Linked DNA regions of Homo sapiens: regions 1 and 2 are each linked to region 3. The links are contacts of gene promoters, found by promoter capture Hi-C in human tissues and cell types (Jung and others, 2019). All regions are on one chromosome and are shown on one strand. The core of a region is centred on a gene start or on the middle of the fragment in contact, and the rest is flanking DNA. Distances in the headings are between cores, read along the strand shown.

Region 1 (4,125 bases), core at 1,605-4,104, 310 kb after region 3:
GAGGCAGGAGAATCACTTAAACCTGGGAGGCAGAGGTTGCAGTGAGCCAAGATCACTGCACTCTAGCCTGGGTGACAGAGCAAGACTCTATCTCAAGAAAAAATAAATAAGTAAAAAATAAAGCTGGCATTAGGCTGGGCACTGTGGCTCATGCCTGTAATCCCAGCACTTTGAGAGGCAGAGGCAGGCAGATCACCTGAGGTCAGGAGTTCGAGACTAGCCTGGCCAACATGGTGAAACCCCATCTCTACTAAAAATACAAAAATTAGCCAGGCTTTGTCACGGGCACCTGTAATCCCAGCTACTTGGGAGGCTGAGGCAGGAGAATTGCTTGAACCCAGGAGGCGGAGGTTGTAGTGAGCCGAGATTGCTCCATTGCACTCTAGCCTAGGTAACAAGAGTGAAACTCTGTTTCAAAAAAATAAAAAATAAAAAAATAAAACCATAAAGCTGGCATTGCACAATATAAAGATGAAGTCATGCTAACTATGTTAAATGCTAATTTTCTTGGCTGGGCATGGTGGCTCATGCCTGTAATCTCAGCACTTTGGGAGGCTGAGGTGGGTGGATCACCTGAGGTCAGAAGTTCGAGACCAGCCTGGCCAACATGGTGAAACCCCATCTCTACTAAAAATACAAAAATTAGCTGGGCATGGTGGCGTGTGCCTGTAATCTCACCTACTGAGGAGGCTGAGGCAGGAGAATTGCTTGAACCCGGGAGGCAGAGGTTGCAGTGAGTCGAGATCCCGCCATTGCACTCCAGCCTGGGCAACAAGAAGGAAACTCCGCCTCAAAAAAAAAAAAAAAAGTTAATTTTCTTTACTTAGAATGGCATTAAATAGTAAATTTAAAACACCATGTCAAGAAAGACTAGATAGGCTGGGCGCGATGGCTCACGCCTGTAATCCCAGCACTTTGGGAGGCCAAGACGGGCGGATCACGAGGTCAGGAGATTGAGACCATCCCGGCTAACACGGTGAAACCCTGTCTCTACTAAAAATACAAAAAAAAAAAATTAGCCGGGCGTGGTGGCGGGCACCTGTAGTCCCAGCTACTCGGGAGGCTGAGGCAGGAGAATGGCATGAGCCCGGGAGGCGGAGCTTGCAGTGAGCCCGAGATCGCGCCACTGCACTCCAGCCTGGGCTACAGAGCGAGACTCCGTTTCAAACAAAAAAAAGAAAAGAAAAGAAAAAAGAAAGACTACATATAGGGATGTCCAATCTTTTAGCTTCCCTGGGCCACATTGAAAGAAGAATTGACTGGGCGCAGTGGCTCACGCCTGTAATCCCAGCTGTTTGGGAGGCCGAGGCGAGAGGATTACCTGAGGTCAGGAGTTCGAGATCAGCCTGGGCAACACGGTGAAACTTCATCTGTACTACAAATACAGAATTAGCCGGGCGTGGTGACACATGCCTGTAATCCCAGCTACTCGGGAGGCTGAGGTAGGAGAATCGCTTGAACCTGGGAGGCGGAGGATGCGGTGAGCCAAGATCACGCCCTTGAACTCCAGCCTGGGCAACAAGAGTAAATCTCCATCTCACCAAAAAAAAAAAAGAAAGAAGAAGAATTGTCTTGGACTACACATAAAATATGCTAACACCAATGATAGCTGATAAGCTAAAAAACAAAAAACAAAAAACAAAATCTCCAAAAAATCTCATGTTTTAAGAAAGTTTATGAATTTGAATATGTGTTGGGCTATTTTCAAAGCCATCCTGGGCTGCATGGAGCCTGCAGGCTGTGGGTTGAACAAGCTTGGACTAGAAGAAAGGGGAAAGCTTTATATTTTAGCACCTTTAACAGTATGTTTTTTTTTTTTTTTGAGACGGAGTCTCGCTGTGTTGCCCAGGCTGGAGTGCAGTGGCGTGATCTCAGCTCACTGCAAGCTCCGCCTCCCGGGTTCACGCCATTCTTCCGCCTCAGCCTCCCGAGTAGCTGGGACTACAGGTGCCCGCCACCATGCCCGGCTAATTTTTTTGTGTTTTTAGTAGAGATGGGGTTTCACCGTGTTAGCTAGGATGGTCTCAATCTCCTGACCTCGTAATCCGCCCGTCTCTGCCTCCCAAAGTGCTGGGATTATAGGCGTGAGCCACCACGCCCGGCCTGTTTTTTTTTTTGTTTTTTTTTTTTTGAGAGGAGTTTTGCTCTGTCACCGAGACTGGAGTACAATGGCACGATCTCGGCTCACTGCAACCTCTGCCTCCCGGGTTCAAGCTATTCTCCTGCCTCAGCCTCTTGAGTAGCTGGGATTACAGGCATGTGCCACCATGCCCAGCTAATGTTTGTATTTTTAGTAGAGGAGGGGTTTCACCATGTTGGTCAGGCTGGTCTCAAACGCCTGACCTCAGGTGATCTGCCAGCCTTAGCCTCCCACAGTGCTGGGATTACAGGCGTGAGCCACCATGCCCAGCCAACAGTATTTTTTTTCTATTTTGTGAACAAGTGTTTCCACATTTTCATTTTGCACTGGGCCCTACACATTATGTAGCCAGCCCTGGGCCCACGGGCCTGCCCTCCCTGCCCTCATGCTTATGTGCTTATTTGAGTCTCTTCTCAGGAATGTGGACGTCCCACCTCTCTACTCCAACTGAGGAAAACACATCCTTTCTCACAAAAAGAGCTCCTGCTCTCTTTCCTTCACTCTCCCCAGCACGCTGTGCCCCAAGCCGAGATCACACCACTGCACTCCAGCCTGGGCGACAAGAGTGAGACTCCACCTCAAAAAAAAAAAGAGGACTTTGCAGGTATGAGTAAAGGTCTTGAGATGAGGAGACTATCCTGGATATCAGAGTGGGCCCAATGTAATTAGAAGAGGCCTCCCAGGTTCAAGCAATTCTCCTGCCTCAGCCTCCTAAGTAGCTGGGATTACAGATGCATGCCACCATGCCCGGCTAATTTTTGTATTTTTAGTGGAGACAGAGTTTTACCATGTTGGCCAAGCTGGTATCGAGCTCCTGACCTCAGGTGAGCCGCCCGCCTAGGCCTTCCAGAGTGCTGGGATTACAGGCATGAGCCACTGCGCCTGGTCTTACAAAATCCTTTTTACCATGCAAGGTAACACAGTCACAGGTTTCAGGGATTAGGATGTGAACATCTTTGTTGGGGGGCATTATTTTATCTACTACAATGACATAATTTAATATGTCTGATGATAGAAGAACATGATAATATCTGAAGCCCTGTGGTCAGATTCAGAGAAGTAAAAAGATGAGCATACGTAGGCATGCACACAAATCTAGGTTTCTAAAGGAGAAACGAGGGCCGGGGACAGTGGCTCACGCCTGTAATCCCAGAACTTTGGGAGGTCGAGGCGGATGGATCACGAGGTCAGGAGATCGAGACCATCCTGGCAAACACAGTGAAACCCCATCTCTACTAAAAATATAAAAAATTAGTTGGGCATGATGGCACGCACCTGTAGTCCCAGCTACTTGGGAGGCTGAGGCAGGAGAATCGCTTGAACCCAGGAGGCAGAGGTTGCAGTGAGCCTAGATTGCACCACTGCATTCCAGCCTGGGCGACAGAGCCAGACTCCGTCTCAAAAAAAAACAAACAAGAAAAAGAAGAAACGAGGAAGTGGAAAAAAAGGCTGTTGGGCCTGAAACATTTGCTGGTTTCTTGATAAATTAATTTCTTTTTTTCTTTTTTTTTTTTTTGAGACAAGGTCTCGCTCTTGTTGCCCAGTCTGGAGTGCAATGGCACAATCTCAGCTCACTGCAACCTCTGCCTGCCAGGTTCAAGCGATTCTCCCATCTCAGCCTCCCAGGTAGCTGGGATTACAGGCGCCTGCCACCATACCCAGCTAATTTTGTATTTGTAGTAGAGATGGGGTTTCATCATGTTGGCCAGGCTGGTCTCAAACTCCTGGCCTCAAGTGATTTGCCCAAGTCAGCCTTCCAAAGTGCTGGGATGACAGGCATGAGCCACCGCAGATGAACTGATTTATATTATGTATCAGATACGGCATTCATTTAAGGAAGATGTTTCTTCCCTGGAGCTCATAGCAAACATCAAAGCAGAAGCCAGCCACGTAAAGCCATCATTGCTCAGAGAGACACCAGGCAGACACATCAGGGGAGGTCTCTACGTGGCTAAATAAATGCTAGGTCCATAAGTAAGCTGTAC
Region 2 (3,760 bases), core at 337-2,836, 270 kb after region 3:
AGAAAAAGACTTAAATGATCTGAGATCTTATCCCCACTTTTCTTTTCTGTCCTAGGTTGCTCTCCACAGGCATTGAACACATTGCCCACTTAGTTTCTTTAAAATAGGGGATGGAGAATAAATAATGAACTTAACAAACAAAAATGAAAATAGGCTGGGCACAGTGGCTCACGCCTGTAATCTCAGCACTTTGGGAGGCCGAGGTGGGTGGATCACAAACTCAAGAGATCGAGACCATCCTGGCCAACATGGTGAAACCCCATCTCTACTAAAAATACAAAAATTATCTGGGCATGGTGCCATGCGCCTGTAGTCCCAGCTACTCGGGAGGCTGAGGAAGGAGAATTGCTTGAACCCAGGAGGCAGAGATTACAGTGAGCCGAGATCGCGCCATTGCACTCCAGCCTTGCAACAGAGCAAGACTCCGTCTCAAAAAAAAAAGAAAGAAAAGAAAGTCTGCTTTTTCCATTGTAGTTTCCCTCCTAAATACTCTTGCTGAAAAGGATGTAACACATATGAACCCCTATACGGTCCTTTCTAAAGCTTGGCCCTCTATTTCTTCTCTCACCCCCACTTTGTGTTTGTTGGACCATAGATCTGTGCCTCTCTGCCATGCCAAACAGAGGATCTTAAGGATCCACGTCTCTTAACCCCAGGATATGGTAAGGAATGGTGAAGAATGAACCTCCTACGTATCATTCTGGCAGAGACCACTATATCCTAAGGTGTTGGCTCAAGAGAATGTAAAGGCCAGCTCAGCAACTTGGACCTAGGTCACTGTATGGAAAAGAGCATACTCTGTTCTTCCATTCTTTTCCCTTACCCCAGTTCTAGAAAAGAATAATAGCTTTGCCTTCCATCTTTTCTTTTTCTTTTTTTTTTTTGAGATGGAGTTTCACTCTTGTTGCCCAAGTGGGAGTGCAATGGTGTGATCTCGGCTCACTACAACCTCTGCCTCCAGGGTTCAAGCAGTTCTCCTGCTTCAGCCTCACGAGTAGCTGGGATTACAGGCGTGCGCCACCATGCCCGGCTAATTTTTTGTATTTTTAGAAGAAACGGGGTTTCACCATGTTAGCCAGGCTGGTCTCGAACTCCTGACCTCAGGTGATCCGCCTGCCTTGGCCCCCGCAAAGTGCTGGGATTACAGGCATAAGCCACCACGCCCAGCCTGCCCTCCATCTTCAGTAATGGTTTGTGAGTCTCCCCTTTCTCCACTAGTCCATATCGTCTCCCTGCGGTCATCAGTTTGAAGCTCTCTACCAAGCCCACCTGGTTCCCCCAAAGTATACACATGACCAGGCAACTCCCTGACCTACTCTGTGGTGAATCCAAAGAAGATGACTCCTTGGGTTCCAGTGAGATATTTACCAGCCCCTGACCTGGGTTTGTTAAAGCGTGGCCTTCTTGTCACTACAAGCAGGAAGGAGAATGAGAATGGCATGTCCTTCACCAACAAATAATTGTGAAGCTTTGTTGTAAATAATACATGTAAACATGTTACCATTTCTGTGCAGGATCATTAACATCCAGTTACCTCCACCATGAACCTAAGCCATGAGAGGTACTGACCTATTAGATTCATAGACAGAAAGCTTTCAGCTTGAAAGGTAGCAGCTTCTGGGTTCTGGGCTTGCCTATGTCCTGATGTACAACCAATCATAAACAAGTCTTTACTTCTCTGACTCTTTTCAAATAATACTTTCCTGGCCCAGCATCATCTCCCTGTCCTCAGAAGACATGCACAAAACAGAGATCAGTCTCTTTAGAATGGCCTCCCGCTGCCTTCTAAAAGGCTGGTGGCAAAACAAGAATGCTAGCTCGGAAGGCAGTGGTTCATGCCTGTAATCCCAGCACTTTGGGAGGCTGAGGTGGGCGGATCACCTGAGGTCAGAAGTTCAAGACCAGTCTGGCCAACATGGTGAAACCCTGTCTCTACTAAAAATACAAAAATTAGCTGAGCGTGGTGGTGTGCACCTGTAATACCAGCTACCCGGGAGGCTGAAGCAGAAGAATCCCTTGAACCCAGGAGGCGGAGGTTGTAGTGAGCCAAGATCACGCCACTGCACTCCAGCCTTCCAACATAGGTGACAGAGCAAGGCTCCATCTCAAAAAAAAAAAAAAAAAAGAATTGAAATAATCTACATATTTGGATAGCCAGATTACAATCAGAAATTTAACTTCTGCTCATGAACTCTACGCAAAGGGGAAATAATAGAACTGTCTGAGTGGCTAGTGCCATTACACTCACAGGGCATATATCTGTCCCTACTCCTTTTTTTGTTTTTGAGACAGGGTCTTGCTCTGTCACCCAGGCTGGAGAGCAGTGGCATGACCAAGGCTTACTGCAGCCTTAGACTCGGCTCAAGTTATCCTTCCATCTTAGCCTTCCAAGTAGCTGAGACTACAGGCATGCACCACCATGCCTGTAATTTTTTTTAAGAGATGGAGTCTTACTATGTTGTTCAAGCTGGAGTCAATCACCTGGCCCCAAACTATCCTCCCACCTCAGCCTCCCAAATGTTGGGATTACAGGCATGAGCCACCATGCCTGGCCTGTCTCTACTTTAGAATAGAACTGGGCCCTGTGTTCAAGCTTAAGCATCACTTGATTTCTCTGGTGTCTCCTATAACAGAGGACATATAGACCATCTCCTTTTAGCACATTCTTTTTCCAAACACAGCACAATTGATTTAAGCTTTCTTGCTATGCTAGACCCAGGAAGACTGCATTGAAAGACTGATTTGTGTTTTATAACTCCAGATCTTCATGTCTTCACCTATTTAAAGCAAGTATATATGATAACTCATTTGAAAGAGGGAGTAAGGCTGGGAAGAGCTGGACTGGTACCTACAGATTGCCTTTAACCATGCTTAAGAGAAGAACAAATATATCCATGATCATCCAAAACCCTTTATTTAAGTCAAGAATTCCTGCATCTGACCAGCCTGGCCAACATGGTGAAACCTCATCTCTACTAAACTTACAAAAATTAGCTGGGCATGGTGGCTCATGCCTGTAATCCCAGCTTCTCTGAAGGCTGAGGTGAGAGGATCACTTGAACCCAGGAGGCGGAGGTTGCAGTGAGCTGAGATTGCACAACTGCACTCCAGCCTGGGTTACAAAGATAGATCCTGTCTCAATAAATAAATAAATAAATAAATAATAAAAATAAAAATAAAAAATTCCTGCTGGGCGCAGTGGCTCATGCCTGTAATCCCAGCACTTTGGGAGGCCAAGGCAGGCAGATTGCCTGAGCTCAGGAGTTCAAAACCAGCCTGGGCAACATGGCAATACCCTGTATCTACTAAAAATACAAAAACTTAGCCAGTCGTGGTGACAGGCACCTGTAATCCCAACTACTCAGGAGGCTGAGGCAGCAGAATCACTTGAACGTGAGAGGTGGAGGTTGCAGTGAGCCGAGATCATGCCACTGCACTCCAGCCTGGGCAACACAGCAAGACTCTCTTTCCGAAAAAAAAAAAAAAAGAGAGAATTCCTACATCTTTCCTATCAAACCTTTTGAATTGAGCTGCTGCTGCTGACCGGGTAGGAAAGGAAGGCGTTTAAATGTTTCTCTGCTTACTCTTTGATCGAGGAGCTAAAATGGCAAAATTAGAGTAAGATTCTGATGTGCAGCTGATTGGAAGGCAGGAGACACATGCCCTGACCTCAACTCTGCTTCTTGACCAGCTTGATTTCCCATGTGTACAAGGAGATCATTAAAGTACATCATTTTCAAATTACATTTTGAAGATCAGA
Region 3 (3,996 bases), core at 776-3,275:
GACTTCAGGTACACACCACCACACCCAGCTAATTTTTAAATTATTTGTACAAACAGGGTCCCCCCATATGGCCCAGGCTGGTCTCGAACTCCTGGGCTCCATTAATCTTCTGCCTTCGTCTCCCATAGTGCTGGGATTACAGACATGAGTCTCCGTGCCCAGCCAGTCTTTTTTGCCCTCTATCATCTACCACCCACCATACCAAGGGAAACAAGCAAATCTGGCGTCTGATGTTCCCGGCCTGCAGAAGACGCCATATCCCATCTGGATGAGAAATGAAGCACATGAGCAGCCTGGCAGAGCCACAGTTAATGTGAACCTGGAGAGGAACCGTGCTGTCTTCCAGCAAGACCTCACCAGCAGGGCGTGAAGCCATGAGATCTGGGGTGGAAGGGGGTTGGAGAAAGGTCTGGGTTTTATTTTTCCTTCTCCTTTTCTTAGGCTAATTACCATTCATCGCAATCCCTTTCCTAAACCCTAATATCTTCCCAGTTTATAAAGTGCTCTCACATTTACAATATTTAATCTTCCCAACCCTGTGAGGTCAATATTATCCATATTTTGTAAATGAGGAAACTGAAGGTCCTCATGATCAAGTGATTCACCTAAGACCATAGCTTGTGGGTGGCTGAGCCCAGGGCTGCAGACCCTAATTTTAATGTTCTCTCCTCTACCCCATATTGCGGAGGGCAGGCAGGCAGTCCCCTGTCATGGGGCTCTGCAGCTCTCCATGGAACCAATAATGGAGAAGAAAATTGCGTTGCATTTTCTAAGTAGTCAGCTGGGATGGCAGGAATTTATTTATTTTATTTACTTATTTATTTTTTGAGACAGAGTCACGCTCTTGTTGCCCAGGCTGGAGTGCAGTGGCACGATCTTGGCTCACTGCAAGCTTTGCCTCCCAGGTTCAAGCAATTCTCCTGCCTCAGCCTCCCTAGTAGCTGGGACTACAGATGCCCGCCACCACACCCAGCTAATTTTTTTGTATTTTTAGTACAGACAGGGTTTCACCATGTTGGCCAGGTTGGCCTCAAACTCCTGACCTCAGGTGATCCGCCTGCCTCTGCCTCCCACAGTACTGGGATTACAGGCGTGAGCCACTGTGCCTGGCCATGGCAGGAAATTTTGATGGGCATCTACTTACCTGCAAGTGTGTTGTGCTTTCTTAATTGAGGGGCATTGTTAGAGGATTGTTAGAGGTAGTGGTGTTACTTGACTGGGTCTTCTGGGGTGTTGATGTGCACAGGGGAAATTTGGATTTCCCATCACTTTGTGTGATGACCACACAGCCCCTAAATCTCACCTAAGTGTGATATGGAGAAGCTGAAAGAAGCCACTACATTGTCCACATGAGCTAGGAACAGTGACTTTAGGTCTTACATTAAATCTTAATTCTGCCTTAACTTTGCTGTGCAACTCAGGCCAGACTTCTCCCTCTCTGGTTCTCAGAACAGCCCTGGCAGCCAAACCGAAGTTATCTCCTATGCCAGCCTGAGACTCCACTCCCTTTGCAACCTCCTGGAGAAGATAACTTAGGGAAAGACTGTCACTGCTCAGAGGAAGCATCCCAAACCCCTCACTGGTTTAGGAATTTAACACTACCGAGCAACGGCCCCAGAAGGCAAGGCGATTGTTAGGAGGAATTAAACAGGCTAGTGCTGGACCCAGCCATCCAGTCCTGGCTTACACAGAGGTTGCTTTTCATGCCTTTTCACTCTGTTAATTTGGCTTGTTTTCCAAACATGGGTCAAACAACCCCTCTCCAGAAGCGGCAGCAGCAGAAGGAAATGTTATTAAAAATGAGTCTGTTAGTGGGAATGGTGTGTGGATGAAGTCTTTGGGAGTTTTGGCTGCCAAATAAAGACTTTATTGTCATTCCTCCTTTCCCAAGCTCCCTCCCTCTCTCCTCCCCTCCCCTCCCTCCCTCCTCCCTCCTCTCCTCCCCTCCCTCCCTATGATCTGCCCCTCCCTCCCCCCAAGCTAACCTCCCCACCCCAATAGGATCTGGTGGAAGAAAAGTCAGGCAAACACAAGCACGCACACACCACTGGGAGATCAGATCTTCTAGCTGGCTCTCTGCTGCCACAGCTCCGCCGAAGGGAGGGGGTGGAAGAGGAGGACTAAACTCAGAGCTGAGAGGAGAGGCAGGTGTGTGCAGGTAAGCCCAGTTGGGAGATGGGCAGGAGACTGGGAAGAATCTTTCATCCAGTAAGTTTCCTCCAGCTCTGTCCATTTATTGATCTAGTCTCTATCCTCTCACTCCTTCCTTCCTCCCACCTCTTTCTCCTCTCAAATGAGTTCAAATTTAGTCTTCCTAACTTCTTTCCTATAGCCTCTTCCTTTTCTTTTCATCACTCTGTACCCCTATATTTGCTTACTGCAAAAGTTAAGCTTTCCTGCTGCAGATGTTTGTTGTAGCACAGAGAGCCACGCTGCACAAAGTGTTTCTACAGATCAGGTGTTTCCATAGAAACTGGACTCCAGAACCCATTTCTTTGCACCTTTTGTGTATTGTCACACATTGTGGAAGTCACACACATCACACGGAGGCTGCACGTTCACTACCATCACCCCACACGACCATACAAAATGAAGACATCCTGTCCATTCACCTCTGCCCTCTGCATCTGACATGCAGAGCTAGACCACATCATCACCAGACACCAGCAGACACACACACACATGCATGCACACATGTTCCCTGCATCTTGTCTCTCGCCCTCTCACACACACCTCCCTAGCTGTAAGAGCAAAGATAAAGTACGTTTTCCCACTGAGATGGCAGAGCCAGAAGAAAATCTTGCATCCCAAGTCCAGGCCGAATAGGGAGGAGATAAGCAAGAGCGGGAGCTGGAAGGGTTTCTTCATTATTTAGGGCTTCACTGGGTAGGAGGGAGAGAAAAACGGCTTTTTCCAACCTGCACAGTGTCTTCTCAGCAGCTTTCAATTTCTGTCTCACTGGTCCAAACCACTTGGCTTTTGGAAAGAAAGAAGAAAGCGACCCAGTTCCCAATCCTTGAAGGTCCTAATTCCCAGCTCTGGGGACAGTTCATTTTTTTATTTTTTTTTCCTGCAGGCAGCCAGAAAAATATTTTTCTTTAAAGCCGTTCTGAAATTATTCCAACCATTTAGGTTGGCAAAAGGTCCTGTGGCAGAGGAGAAAAAAAAAAAAAGGCAGCAGTTCCTTAAGCAGTTGGGGAGGGGAAAACTGAAGGGCGGCCCCTCTCCTGCTCCCCTGCTCATTCCTCTCTATTAATAGAGAGGGTCTGTCCCAAGGCAGGCGGGGTGTAGGGAGATCAGGGGTCCCACACACAGCTGATCTTCACAGTCACCTAAGGGCTGGAGAGGGAGGAGTGTGGAGGGCTTACTAAAAATACAGATGTCGGCTCTCACTGCAGATCTACTGAATCGAGACCCAGGAATCTTGTTTTAATACTTCAGGAGATTCTGATGGTCCACCAGGGCTCGAGAATCAGGGGCCTGAGAGAGAGCTTTGCTGTAATTTTTAAGCCCAAGACTCCGGCAGTGTTAGCTGGGCAGAAGGACTGTGTCCTGGAAAAGGAGCACCAGAGTGTCCCAAATAGGCCACCTCTTTTTTGGGGAGTGGGAGTAAACAGGGAAGAGCTGTCTCCCTCTCTCCTCCTTGCAAGCACAAGCAGCCATATATACCACAGAGGAACATTCCAGTAAGAAAGTTCCCCCAAGATGGCTCCACAGAGCTTCTGTTTCCCCTCACCTGTTAATCTGCCTGCCCCAGGACCCCAGGAGCATGTGCTGGGCCCTTCCCCTGACCCTTATAGGTCCCTGCTCCTCCTTCCCAGCAGCCACCTGTCTGGGCTCTCACAGAGGGTGAGCTGAACACTTTCTTCATGCCCCCTCCACCTCCCTAGTGGGCAATCCCATTTATTGGGCATGTGAGTGAAGCATTTCAAGGCTGGAAGGGGCAAAAAGCTGGGAGAAGTCAAGAATCGCAGTGGAACTCCATGGCCCACTGAG

The links. The method cuts DNA at HindIII sites, captures the fragments that hold promoters and counts their contacts. A contact is called where the count stands out against the background at its distance.
Region 1: a contact is called between a fragment that was not itself captured here and the fragment with the promoter of PRELP in region 3, in 2 of the 25 tissues and cell types used here (mesendoderm cells and thymus).
Region 2: a fragment that was not itself captured here is called in contact with the fragment with the promoter of PRELP in region 3 in 6 of the 25 tissues and cell types used here (H1 embryonic stem cells, adrenal gland, dorsolateral prefrontal cortex and 3 more).

Annotation. Positions count from the first base shown.
Region 1 is chr1:203,779,654-203,783,778 of GRCh38, forward strand. No RefSeq gene overlaps it. Among named protein-coding and RNA genes, the nearest start is that of ZBED6, 14 kb to the right of the region's middle. The HindIII fragment of the contact is 6,600 bases long and covers 1-4,125 here.
Region 2 is chr1:203,745,896-203,749,655 of GRCh38, forward strand. No RefSeq gene overlaps it. Among named protein-coding and RNA genes, the nearest start is that of LINC00260, 17 kb to the left of the region's middle. The HindIII fragment of the contact is 4,510 bases long and covers 1-3,760 here.
Region 3 is chr1:203,473,781-203,477,776 of GRCh38, forward strand. PRELP (proline and arginine rich end leucine rich repeat protein) reads left to right here and starts at 2,026. Exons shown (of 3, transcript NM_002725.4): 1 at 2,026-2,158. The HindIII fragment of the contact is 3,589 bases long and covers 1-3,239 here.